2 separate regions of the Homo sapiens genome follow, and region 1 is linked to region 2. The links are contacts of gene promoters, found by promoter capture Hi-C in blood cells and fetal thymus (Javierre and others, 2016). All regions are on one chromosome and are shown on one strand. The core of a region is centred on a gene start or on the middle of the fragment in contact, and the rest is flanking DNA. Distances in the headings are between cores, read along the strand shown.

What was found. The method cuts DNA at HindIII sites, captures the fragments that hold promoters and counts their contacts. A CHiCAGO score of 5 or more calls a contact.
Region 1: a contact is called between the fragment with the promoter of TNS2 here and a fragment that was not itself captured in region 2, in 1 of 17 cell types (fetal thymus). The highest score is 6.0, in fetal thymus.

Annotation. Positions count from the first base shown.
Region 1 is chr12:53,046,085-53,051,533 of GRCh38, reverse strand. TNS2 (tensin 2) reads right to left here and starts at 1,469. Exons shown (of 29, transcript NM_170754.4): 1 at 1,274-1,469. The coding sequence starts at 1,348. The region is part of intron 2 of TNS2-AS1 (TNS2 antisense RNA 1); the gene reads left to right. RefSeq lists enhancers at 2,465-3,308, 3,309-4,153, 4,851-4,900, 4,981-5,170 and silencers at 3,611-4,200, 4,271-4,340. The HindIII fragment of the contact is 14,276 bases long and covers 1-5,449 here.
Region 2 is chr12:53,321,786-53,327,101 of GRCh38, reverse strand. It overlaps SP7 (Sp7 transcription factor), which reads left to right. Exons shown (of 3, transcript NM_001173467.3): 3 at 1-527. Among named protein-coding and RNA genes, the nearest start is that of AAAS, 2.8 kb to the right of the region's middle. RefSeq lists a silencer at 1,767-2,266 and an enhancer at 2,580-3,313. The HindIII fragment of the contact is 2,736 bases long and covers 2,699-5,316 here.

The DNA.
Region 1 (5,449 bases), core at 220-2,719, 270 kb after region 2:
AGGGTACTCCCTGACTCTTCCCATCTTGTCCTCCCCGCATGGAGACCTGTGTGCAGAGTGAGCAGGGAGGTTCCAAACATATGTGTTGTATGTCAGTCCTGCAGCACCAGACTGAGCCGGCAGGAGTGGCCTCAGCCAGTCCTGCTCCTTTAGCTCCTGCTGTCCCCACGCTCCAGGCAGCTGACATGCCCTCCTCCCCCACGGTCAGAACAACATGTTTACTCATTGTGCACTGAGGCAGCAGACAGCAATTGTGTAATGGGGGTGGTCATGCTGGAGGGAAACAGATAGAAGCCTGTCACTGGGGAGAGATGTTTAGCTGGCTTTGGATGCTGTGAGTTCTCCCCCGACCCCCTGCACCCTGGCACTTGGGATTCACGCATTGAATGAGAAAGGAGTGGACCAGATTCCCTGTTCAGCCCCTCCTGACCCAGAGATGCAGTGAGGCAGGAGCCTGGGATGCCCCCTTATGGCCCAGGCCTATCTCAGTCCCTTCCCCTCCCACTGTGGGTTCTCTCCTCCCATCCTCTGTCTGGGGACAGCTTGTCTCCTTGCCATCTCTCTGTTTTACCCATATTCCCCCTCCTCTGGAGTTCAGACTCCTGCTGTCCTCCTCCCGGGGACCCATCACAGTAGTATCTCAGGTTGTCCTGAGCTGCTGCTTTTGGGGCAAGGCTGGGAAGTTGGGAAAGGGAGTGATGGGGATGTGGGCAGCACCTCTGGTTTCTTGACTGTCCCTGCAACTCTTCTGGGCTGGATCAACTTTGTGGGACCCACTAAGACACTTGGGAGCATGTTGGCATTAGCAGCAGATATGGATGTTGTCAGTGGAAAGCAAACCTCCAGTTCCAAAGCACTCCTGACTCCCTCTCCTCTCTCTTTTTCCACCCTGCCACCCCATTTCCCTCAAACTTCCCTGGGCCAGGGAAGGGGCCTGATGATCTCTGAGCCTGCTGGAGGATACCTGGATAGCGCATGGCAAAGTCCTGCAGTGAGGCACCTGGGGCTTATGTTGGGGGGCCAGGACCTCCTGGGGTTGGCCCAGGCTAGAGCAGGGAAGGTGAGAGGAGCCAAAACAGACAGCAGGACCTACTCTAACCCAAACATCCCCTCACACTACAGCCCTGGCCACTCCGGAGGGGATGCTGGGCCAGGGAAGAAGGCTGAGGAAGCTGAAATTGGGAAGAAGGCCTGGCCTGATTCCTGGTCCCCTCCCCCACTGCCCGCACCTCCACCCCTGCCCCTCTTTTGCCCAGCTGGTGGGCACTCCTACCCTGCTTGCGGCCCGGCTGCTGTCCCTCCTCCCCAGGGCTCTGAGCAGCCTCTCCACAGGGCCGCTGGACTTCATGGTGTTCGGCTGGCTGGGGTGCTGGCCCCAGGGCCTGAACAATGCTGGGGCCTGGCCCGGGGCTTCCTGGAAGCGGCCTGGCGGAGGCAGCCGCTTCCCCTGGGCGGAGGGTAGGCTGTCTGGCTGGTGTGAGGAGAAGCCCGGCCCTGGAAGTGGAGGGAAGTGCAGGCGGGAAGGGGGCAGGTCGCTGCTCCAGGAAGTGGAGGGGGGAGGATGTGGGGGAGGCCAGGAGATCAGATTCCCAGGATCTACCCTGCTGGGAGTGTCAGCCTGTGATCTTTTGCTCCCCCTACTCCCCCAACTCTGGAGTTGTCCCACACCTGGGACACCACACTCTCCAGGGATCTGCAGGGATCCATGGTCTTGAGATTCTGCCCCCACCCCCGGTGGGGCCGGGTGAGAATTCTGGTCTCGGGGCAGGGCTAAAGGGCAAGTGGGGAACAGTGTGTCCCAGCCAGGCTCCAGCCTGAACTCTCAAGCTCTCGAGGGACTTCCGCTGGGGAGGGAGTGGAGCTGGGAACTACTACCAGCAGGCAGGCCCAGGATCCCGAGTGTGTCCTGAGAGTCAGGTAAAAATGGGACTGGGGGCCCCCTTCCTGTCTCAGTTTCACTCGTTATGAAGTAGGAAAAGGAAAGCATGCACCGCCCACCTTTACCCTCAATACACCTTGCAAGGCCAAGTTCCAGCCACAAGACTGCTTTGCTCAGGTTTGGGGAGTAATCCATTCTCCTGCCACAGCCTAAGGCATATGAGGCCCTTCTCCTGAAAGCCCCCAGGTTTCTGCTCCTGACACAGTGCCCCCCACTCACCCATTCCCTGGCTTTGTTTCAGACATGATCTCACAGATCCCTAGCCCTCTTTCCAGCCCTGCAACTTGGGCTCTCTACCCAAGGGCTGCACCCTCCCCCCGCGGCAACCCCGAAGCCTGAGTACTACCTTCATGGCTCTCCTGGGTCTGCTCTCCTTCCTCAGCAGCTGTCCCAGGGCCTGAGGACTGGACAGGAGGTCCCCCCTCCCAACACATACTCCACCCCCATCCATGGGCCTCCGGCCTCCCTCCTGGGAACATGGCCAACTTCCCGTCCTGGGAGTCAAGGGAGGGAGGTGGATGGGGCCTTGAAAAAGGGGGAGTAATCTTCCTAAAAGCTAAGGGGTTAATGGCCTGGGAGTCTTCAGCCCCAAGCTGTGGACAGCAGCCCCTGGGACAGGCTATAGCTGTCACTTGAAAGAATGTGCAAATGTGCCCCTCTCATTTGCATGGTATTTATTGAATGTCCCAGTACTCAGGCAACTCCCCCAGCCCTGGCTTCTCCCACGGAGTCCCTTCTACTTGCTTCCTGCTCCTTCATATCCACCAGGATGGGTTCCCTGGGATGAAGAATCCTGCATTCTCTGGGGTGAGGCCTGCTGTGGGTGCCCACTTGAGACCCTTGCGAGGACCTGACTGGATTGGGCCTAGCCTGACACCTCTCCCTGGAAGCTCCAATTTTCCAGGCCAAGAAATGTGTCCCCAGGATATCCTGGCCAGAAGGTGGCATCTGTGTGGCAGGCCTGGGCTCCCTGCCTGTAACTGGAGAGGAGCACGGGCTCTGTGACCCACCCCCATCCTGCCAGCCTGGCTGTGTCCCAGCACATTCCAGGCCCCCGGCCAGTGTGGGCAACCGGGCCTGGCCTTGTCGAGCCCCCAGCCCTGCTTGGGGGAGATGGGGCAGTGTGACAAGGTGGGCAGTGGGGGTGGCTTTTTTCTGTCCAGTCCCAGCTTCTGCTCCTATGGCACATGGCCCTGACCAGGACTCCTCTACATGCTTCACTCTCCTGCTGCCTCCATAGGGGCTGAAAGTCCCCTCACCTGGAACAGGTCCCCAGACATCCTCTCACCTTCACTGGTCTCACACTCCCCACCCAGACCCAGCAAGGAGGTGCCCAAGCAGTGAGCTCGGTGAGGGGTGGGGTGGTCAGGATCCACTGTGGCTGTGAGTCCCTCCCATCCTGTGGCACTCGCACCTCGGAAGGGAAGCAGGGATGGGATCCCTATGAGCCAGTCCCGAGGGGAAAAGTAGCTCACTTGAGGAGGGCTGGGAAGGCATCACTAGACCCTCTTGGACCCTCACCCTCCTCCCGCCTGTAACATTCCAGAGCCTGTCAACCTCTCCCCCAGCCGGGCCCCCTCTCTCTCCGAAGTCTTGGGTTTGTTTGGAGAAACCCCTCCACCCACACCCCCCTTTCTGGAAATAGCTGTGGTTGGAAGGGAGGCTGGGAGCCCGGCCGCCGCGGAGGAGGGGTAAGGCCCAGGGAAGGAGCGAGGGAGGGCGGCGGCTCTGGGGGTGTTCCCAGAAGGGTCTGGAGGATGGGGGCAGACTGGAGGGGGCCGCAGAGCGGGGCTGGCGAGTCGAATCAGCCTCATCTGTGCCCGCTTACGGCCTCTGTCCCACATGTGAAGCAGGAAAGGAAAACGTTCGCCCGCACCCTGCCAGGCCGGGGCCCGAGCGCCGCTGCCAGCTGCTGCCGGGTCCCGGGCCTGCGTGTGTGGCACGGCGTGCGGCCCCGTGCGCCCCGGGTGCTGGAAGGCGTGGCGGCCTGATCGAGTAGGGCCGCGGCCGCGCCCCGCCCCCTAGTCACTGTCCCGGCCTCCCGCTGCTCCCAGCTCTCCGCGGCCAGCCAGAGCCCCCGGCCCCAGCCCTGGGCCGCGCCCCGCGCCCCGCGCCCTCTCGACCTCCGGCGGCCCCGCGCCCCCTGGCGCCCGCCCCTGGCACTGCCCGCGCGGCCGTGACGCAGAGACCGCCGCCCGCCCAGCGCGGCGCGGCCACTCACCTGCGGGGGGCGCCCGGCCGGGCGGGGGCGCGGCGGGGCGGGGCAGCAGCAGGGGGAGCCGCCGGGCCAGCCCATCCCGCCCGTGCCCGCGCCGAGCGGACGCGGAGGAGGAGGCGGTGGCAGTGGCGGGAGCGGGCGGCCGGGCTCGGCTGGGCTCCCTCCCGCCCCCGCCGCGCCCCGCGCCCGCGCCCGCGCCCGTGGCAGCCCGCTCCTCCTCCTCCTCCCTCCCGGCTCCAATCCCCACGTTCCGCCAGCTCCCCACCCCTCGGCCTCCTCTCCTCCCCACCTTCTCCCGCGAACCCACACTCACAAAGAGCCGAGGGGAGAGAGGGTGCGCAGACGGCCAGCCGGGCCGCGCCAGGGACATACTGGAGACAGGAAGTGGCTGAGAGGGGGAGAGAGTTGGAGAGAGACGGCCGCGGAGGACACGGGGACGGGAAAGTCTGAGAGACGGGGAGAGCCTGACCCGGCGGGACACAGGCAGAAAGAAACACGCGAGCCAGACAGACGCAGAAGAAACGGTGGGCGTAGGTCTAGAAGGGACTAGGAACAAGGGGACAGGGAACTGCCGCGCAGCGTCAGCCTCTTACCCTCCCCACAGGAGTGTGCCTGGGCTTGGGCCTGACCTGAGAGGACCACCCGTGGCTTAGCCTGGTGGTGCTAGCGTCCCCTACCCAGGCGGGCGCCTGAATCAGGTGAAGACACCTGGTGTTACTTTTGGCCCAAGTCATTGGACACCCTTCCCTGGTCCTCTGCCCCACAGGAGACTTCTCCTGGGCTAGTATTCTCAAAGGATTCACAGCTGGGGACCTTTCCGTCAGGCTCAAGCCCCCATCTCCACCCGCAAGCAGCTCCAGCCATCCCATCCACTGCCCTGCTTTATTCATTGAGACGGGAGTCTGTCTCTGTCGCCCAGGCTGGAGTGCAGTGGCGCCATCTCGGCTCACTGCAACCTCTGCCTCCCAGGCTCAAGCGATCCTCCCACCTCAGCCTCCCGAGTAGCTGGGACTACAAGATGGGCGCCGCCACGCCCAGCTAATTTTTTGTAGAGATGGGTTTTCGCCATGTTGCCCAGGCTGGTCTCCAATTCTTGAGCTCAAGCGATTTCCCCTTCTTGGCCTCCCAAAGTGCTGGGATTACAGACGTGAGCCACCGTGCCCGGCCCATTGCCCTATTTTAAAGAGCTGGACCGTCATTCCCAGTTCGCAGGAGACCTCTGAGAAGGTCTTCCTTACATTTAACTTGAGTCCAGCCTTTCCAAATGGAGATGGAAGTTCTTTCTATGGTCT
Region 2 (5,316 bases), core at 2,817-5,316:
ATGACCCCATCAGGTTAATCCCCTGTTGCCATGGTTATGGAGAGCTTGCAGCTGCCATCTTAGATGTGCTCTTTGGGGAAGCCCATCTAACAGGAGGACATTGGTTTGGGGGTGCACCTCCTGAAGAATGGGTGGGGAAGGCTTTCTCTAGGATCAGATTCAAATAAGTATGTATTGAGTGCCTACTCTGTGCAAGGCACTATGCTAGATCTGGTGCCTAGAAGCCCTGAGAAAGAACTTAAAGAGCTAGGAGGACAGAGGCCCCCAAGCTGATCTGGTGGTGCATCCACGCACCCCCACCCTGGGACTTTGGATGCTCCCATCTCCACCTCCAGTGACTTTTAAAGCCGCTTCGTGCCTTTCCTGTAACGTTGGATCCTCCTTTTCTGTCCCCTGCTGTCTCAAGGCCCCAAGTTAAAGGGTTAAAGCCGCTGGAGCTTGGGGAGAGAACATTGTGGAATGGAAGGGATCATGCCCTTTGTGGAGTCTTTTTTTTTTAATTTAATAAATAAAAGTTGGATTTGAAATTTTGTCCTGGTGAGAAAAGGAGAAGAGGAAGGGTGAAGCGAGGGCCAATGGTTTTTTTTCCTTAGCAAATTGGGGACTACTCATGGGCGAATATTCTATTGTGCACGTTTGCTCACCTATGCTCGCGGTAAAATAGTTTATCGGCCGGGCGTGGTGGCTCACACATGTAATCCCAGCACTTCGGGAAGCCCAGAAGGGCGGATCACCTGAGGTCAGGAGTTCGAGACCATCCTCGCTAACATGATGAAACCCTGTCTGTACTAAAAAATACAAAAATCAGCCGGGCGTGATGGCAGGTGCCTGTAATCCCAGCTGCTTGGGAGGCTGAGGCAGAAGAATCGTGGAACCTGGGAGGTGGAGGTTGCAGTGAGCTGAGATCGCGCCACTGCACTCCAGCGTGGGCTGCAGAGCGAGACTCCGTCTCAAAACAAAACACAAAACAAAATTGTTTCTCGGTCAAATCCTCCAGCGGTGTTCAGTTTTTGGGCGTGCAGTGCTTTCTGCAGAGTTGGGAAGACTCACTGGTTTCTACCCTGGCCCTTTCTGGACTGCACCAACTGACCCTGGTCAGGGCAGTGACGCGACCCGAGCGCGGGCACCGCGGTTGCAGTGCGGACTCCTGCGCGGCCCCAGTCGGGCGGTGGTGCGGCTCCCGGCGGGCAGACTGGGCCTGGCACGTAACCCGCCCCCTGCCCTGGGTCTGCAATCAGTCGTGCCCGCCACGGAGTTAGCCGAAGAACAAAAACCACTCTGTGGCAGCATCCCCGAGCCACAATAGGGCTTTGTGCGGCCCCCGCCCCCCAAGGTTACCCCGCTGGGCTGAGGGGGCTCACAGGCCGCTCCCCCCGGCCTGGGCCCGACTCCCAGCTGCGCCCCGCGTCGGACTGTCCACCGCACGGGTCGCAAGAGGGGCTGCTACGGGTGGGAGGGGGCCGGCGATCCTGGGGGGGCTCGGGTTACGAGCCCCCTCCCCACCCTGACGCCACTCCCGCCCCCGCCCAGGTGCGAAATCTCCTGCCCTCCGGCTGGGCGCGCGACTTCAAAGGCGCTTTGAAGAAATCCGAGTTCCGAAGACTTCTTTAGTGGGCTGGGGGCTGTGACGGAAGAGACCCGGGAGAGGGGGCTGGGGCAGAGGAAAGGCGGGGGGCGCCTTGGAGCTGGTCTGAGCGAGGCGGCGGCCTGGAGTGGAACCCCGGGATCCCGCCTCAACCCCGCCGGGCGGGCTCCTCCGGACCCCCCAGAGTCTGGCCCTCTCGCCTCCCGGTCTCCGCCTGTCCGGTGCCAGCTCCCGCCCGCCGCAGCCTCGCGGTCCTCCCCTCCCCAACCCTTCGGCCCCTTTCATCTTCCCTAGACTCCGCTTGGGGTTTTGCTGGTTTCTGGGAGATAAAAACCGCTTCAAATAGCGGCGGCGCGCTGCCAGGACAAACAGGGCCGGGCGGGCCATGTGCGCCTGGTTACCGGCCCCGGGTCGGGACGCCGGGCTCCAGCGGGCCCGGGAAGGGGTAGCGGGCGGAGCTCCGGGCACCCAGGCTCCGGTGACGACTCCCAAAGTAGGGGGCCCCTTTTAGAAGCGGCCTGCGCGCTCTCTCGGTTCCCGCCCAGGTCGTAGGGAGGGGCCGGCGGAGACCGCCCGCTAAGCGCTCGGAGCCCATAGGGCGTGGGTCACGGTCGCTGCGTTGCCTGGCCAGCCGCGCCCCCTGGTGAAGTTACTGGGTGAGCGCGCCGGGCCTGGACTTGGGCCTTTCTAGAACCCGCAAATGGTGAAAAGCGTTCCACAAACGTTAAATAAGCAGTATGGAGGAGGGGACAGTACTTGTGCCAGGCCAGGGCGGGGGCAGCGGGCGGAACAGCACTGTTCCTTCTCTCCAGTTCACCTTACAGGGTAAGAAGCAGGCACCTAACCGATCATTATAACCTGATGGTGAAAATCGAGGTTTCATCGAAGGATGCAAGTTGCAGGCCGGAGTGATTTTTCCTAGGGGTATCTGGGTTTGGATGGTGTTACGACTAAGGTACAAACGGAAACTATCGTGGGTCCTCAGTGCTCTCCACTAATCTGTCAGTCACCGACTTCCTCTCCCTCAAACCTGCCCACTTCCCCTTCTCAGGGAGGCTTTCCCAGCCAGGTTCCCCAAACCATCCCCAGTGTATACCTTATGTTCTTCAAGCTTTCTGTGACTTCCCAGGTGACGGTGAACTCACATAGGAAATTAAATGGGGCTATGGGAAAAGGTTAGAGCAGGGGTCGCGCCACGGCCCGTCGTGTCGGTGGCCTGTAAAGGAACCGCACAGCCGGAGACGAGCTGAGCAAGCTGAGCTCCGCCTCCTGTCAGATCAGCGGCATTAGATTCTCATAGTAGCGCGAACTCTGTTGTGAACTGCGCACGTGAAGGACCTAGGTTGCCCGCTTTTTATGAGAATCCAACTAATGCCTGATGATCTCAGGTGTAACAGTTTCATCCCCAAACCATTCCCTCCCCCGCTCCCCCTGGAAAAACTGTCTTCCACTAAACCTGGTGCCAAAAAGTTGGGGACCGCTAGGTTAGAGCCTTGCTACTTAAAATGTGGTCTGTGCAGTATCAGCTGGGGATTCTTTGGAACTATAGCCTCTGAGCGCCACCTTAGGAGATGCTCAGGTGATTCCTATGTCCCTTAACAGTTGAGAAGTACTAGATTAGAGGAGATCCACTTGCCTTCTCAGGTGAAGTGCATTTTCAGGAGACTCTGGAGCCCTTTGTTTTCTGACCTGGTAATAACTCTCTTGGGGGGAATTTTTCAGGTGAAAAAGAAGGGCAGACACGGAATCCAGAATACTAGAACTAAATGCCCCCTAGATTATTCAATGAGACTGGTAGCTCTTGGGAGTGGGGACAGCCTTCTACATCTTCAAATCACTTAACATTTGTTAATGAACTCTGACCAAGGTCACCTAGTTGATGGCACAGTTATAGCTATTAACCTCTGACATTTGTTTAGCACTTTAAAATTTATTAAATAGCTTCATTTTATTATTTTGTATGGAAAACAACCATATGAAATAATTAGGACACTGCAAATGAGAAAAGTGAGACTCAAAGAATTCAATGTTTTTTCCAAAGTCTGTAAGAGGGGCCCCCATTCTCTTTCTTTCTTTCCTTTCTTTCTCCCTCTCCCTTCCCTCCCATTTTTTTTTGTTTTGTTTTGTTTTTTGTTTTTTTTTTTTTTTGAGACGGAGTTTCGCTCTTGTTGCCCAGGTTGGATGGAGTGCAGTGGCGCGATCTCTGCTCACTGCAACCTCCGCCTTCCAGGTTCAAGGGATTCTCCTGCCTCAGCCTCCCGAGTAGCTGGGATTACAGGCATGCACCACAATGCCTGGCTGGTTTTGTATTTTTTAGTAGAGATGGGGTTTCTCCATGTTGGTCAGGCTGGTCTCGAAATCCCGACCTCAGGGGATCAGCCCACCTCAGCTTCCCAAAGTGCTGGGATTACAGGCGTGAGCCACCGCGCCCGGCTCTTTCTCTCTGGCTTGCTTGACAGGGTCTCGCTCTTTGACCCAGGCTGGAGTGCAGTGGTGCTATCTTGGATCATTGTAGTCTGGATTCTCCTATCTCAGCCTTCTGAGTAGCTGGACTAAAGACGCTTGCCACCACCACGCTGGCTAACTTTTGAATTTTTTGTAGATACAGGGTCTTGCTATTTTGCCCAAGCTGGTCTTGAACTCCTGGGCTCAAGAGATCAGCCTCGGCCTCCCAAAGTGCTGGGATTACAGGTGTGAGCTACCACACCCAGCCTTACTTTTATTCTTAAGTGAGAATAACTGGTTTGGGTGTATCTAGGTCCAATCTCTCTGTGACTCACTTTCCTCATGGTGACAGAACAGCACCCACCTTATGGGGTTGTAAAGATTATAAAAGCACTTATCGTAACAAGTGCTCAGGAAATAGTTTTGCAGCCCGGCAAGGTGGCTCAGGCCTGTAATCCCAGCAATTTGGGAGGCCAAAGCAGGCAGATCACTTGAGGTCAGGAGTTTGAGACCAGCCTGGCCAACATGGTAAAACCTCGTCTCTACTAAAAATACAAACTTAGCTGGGCGTGGTGAAGCATGCCTGTAATCCCAGCTACTCCAGAGGTTGAGGCAGGATAATCGCTTGAACCGGGGAGGCAGAGGTTGCAGTGAGCTGAGATAGCACCACTGCCTTCATCCTGGGCAATAGAGCGAGACCCTGTCTCTCAAAAAAATAAAATAAAATAAAGTTTTCCTTTTTGAGACGAAGTTTCCCTCTTGTTACCCAGGCTGGAGTGCAATGGTGCGATCTTGGCTCACTGCAACCTCCCCCTCCGGAGTTCAAGAGATTCTCCTGCCTCAGCCTCCCGATTAGCTGGGATTACAGGTGCCCGCCACCACGCCCGACTAATTTTTGTATTTTTAGTATAGATGGGGTTTTCAGCATGTTGGCCAGGCTAGTCTGCGAACTCCTTTCAGATGATCCACCCACCTCGACCTCCCAAAGTGCTGGGATTACAGGCGTGAGCCACCGCGCCTGGCAGGAAATGTTAGTTTTCCAACCGTCCCCACCTCCCTTTCCAGGACGCCTAACCGTGTGGGTGCAGCACTGTTCCTCCTCTCTGAGGCTTTTCCCTCAGCTTTCCAGCCAGCTGCCTGTGACATAGCCTGTATTTTCCTCTGGGTGATCCACAGGCCTGGGAGGATTAATTTGGTACTTCCCTGAATGTGGCTTATTTCGGGCTTTCTAAGCGCTAAGATAGTGAGTGGGAGAAGGTGTTCGGGAATTCGGAGCTGGGAAAAAC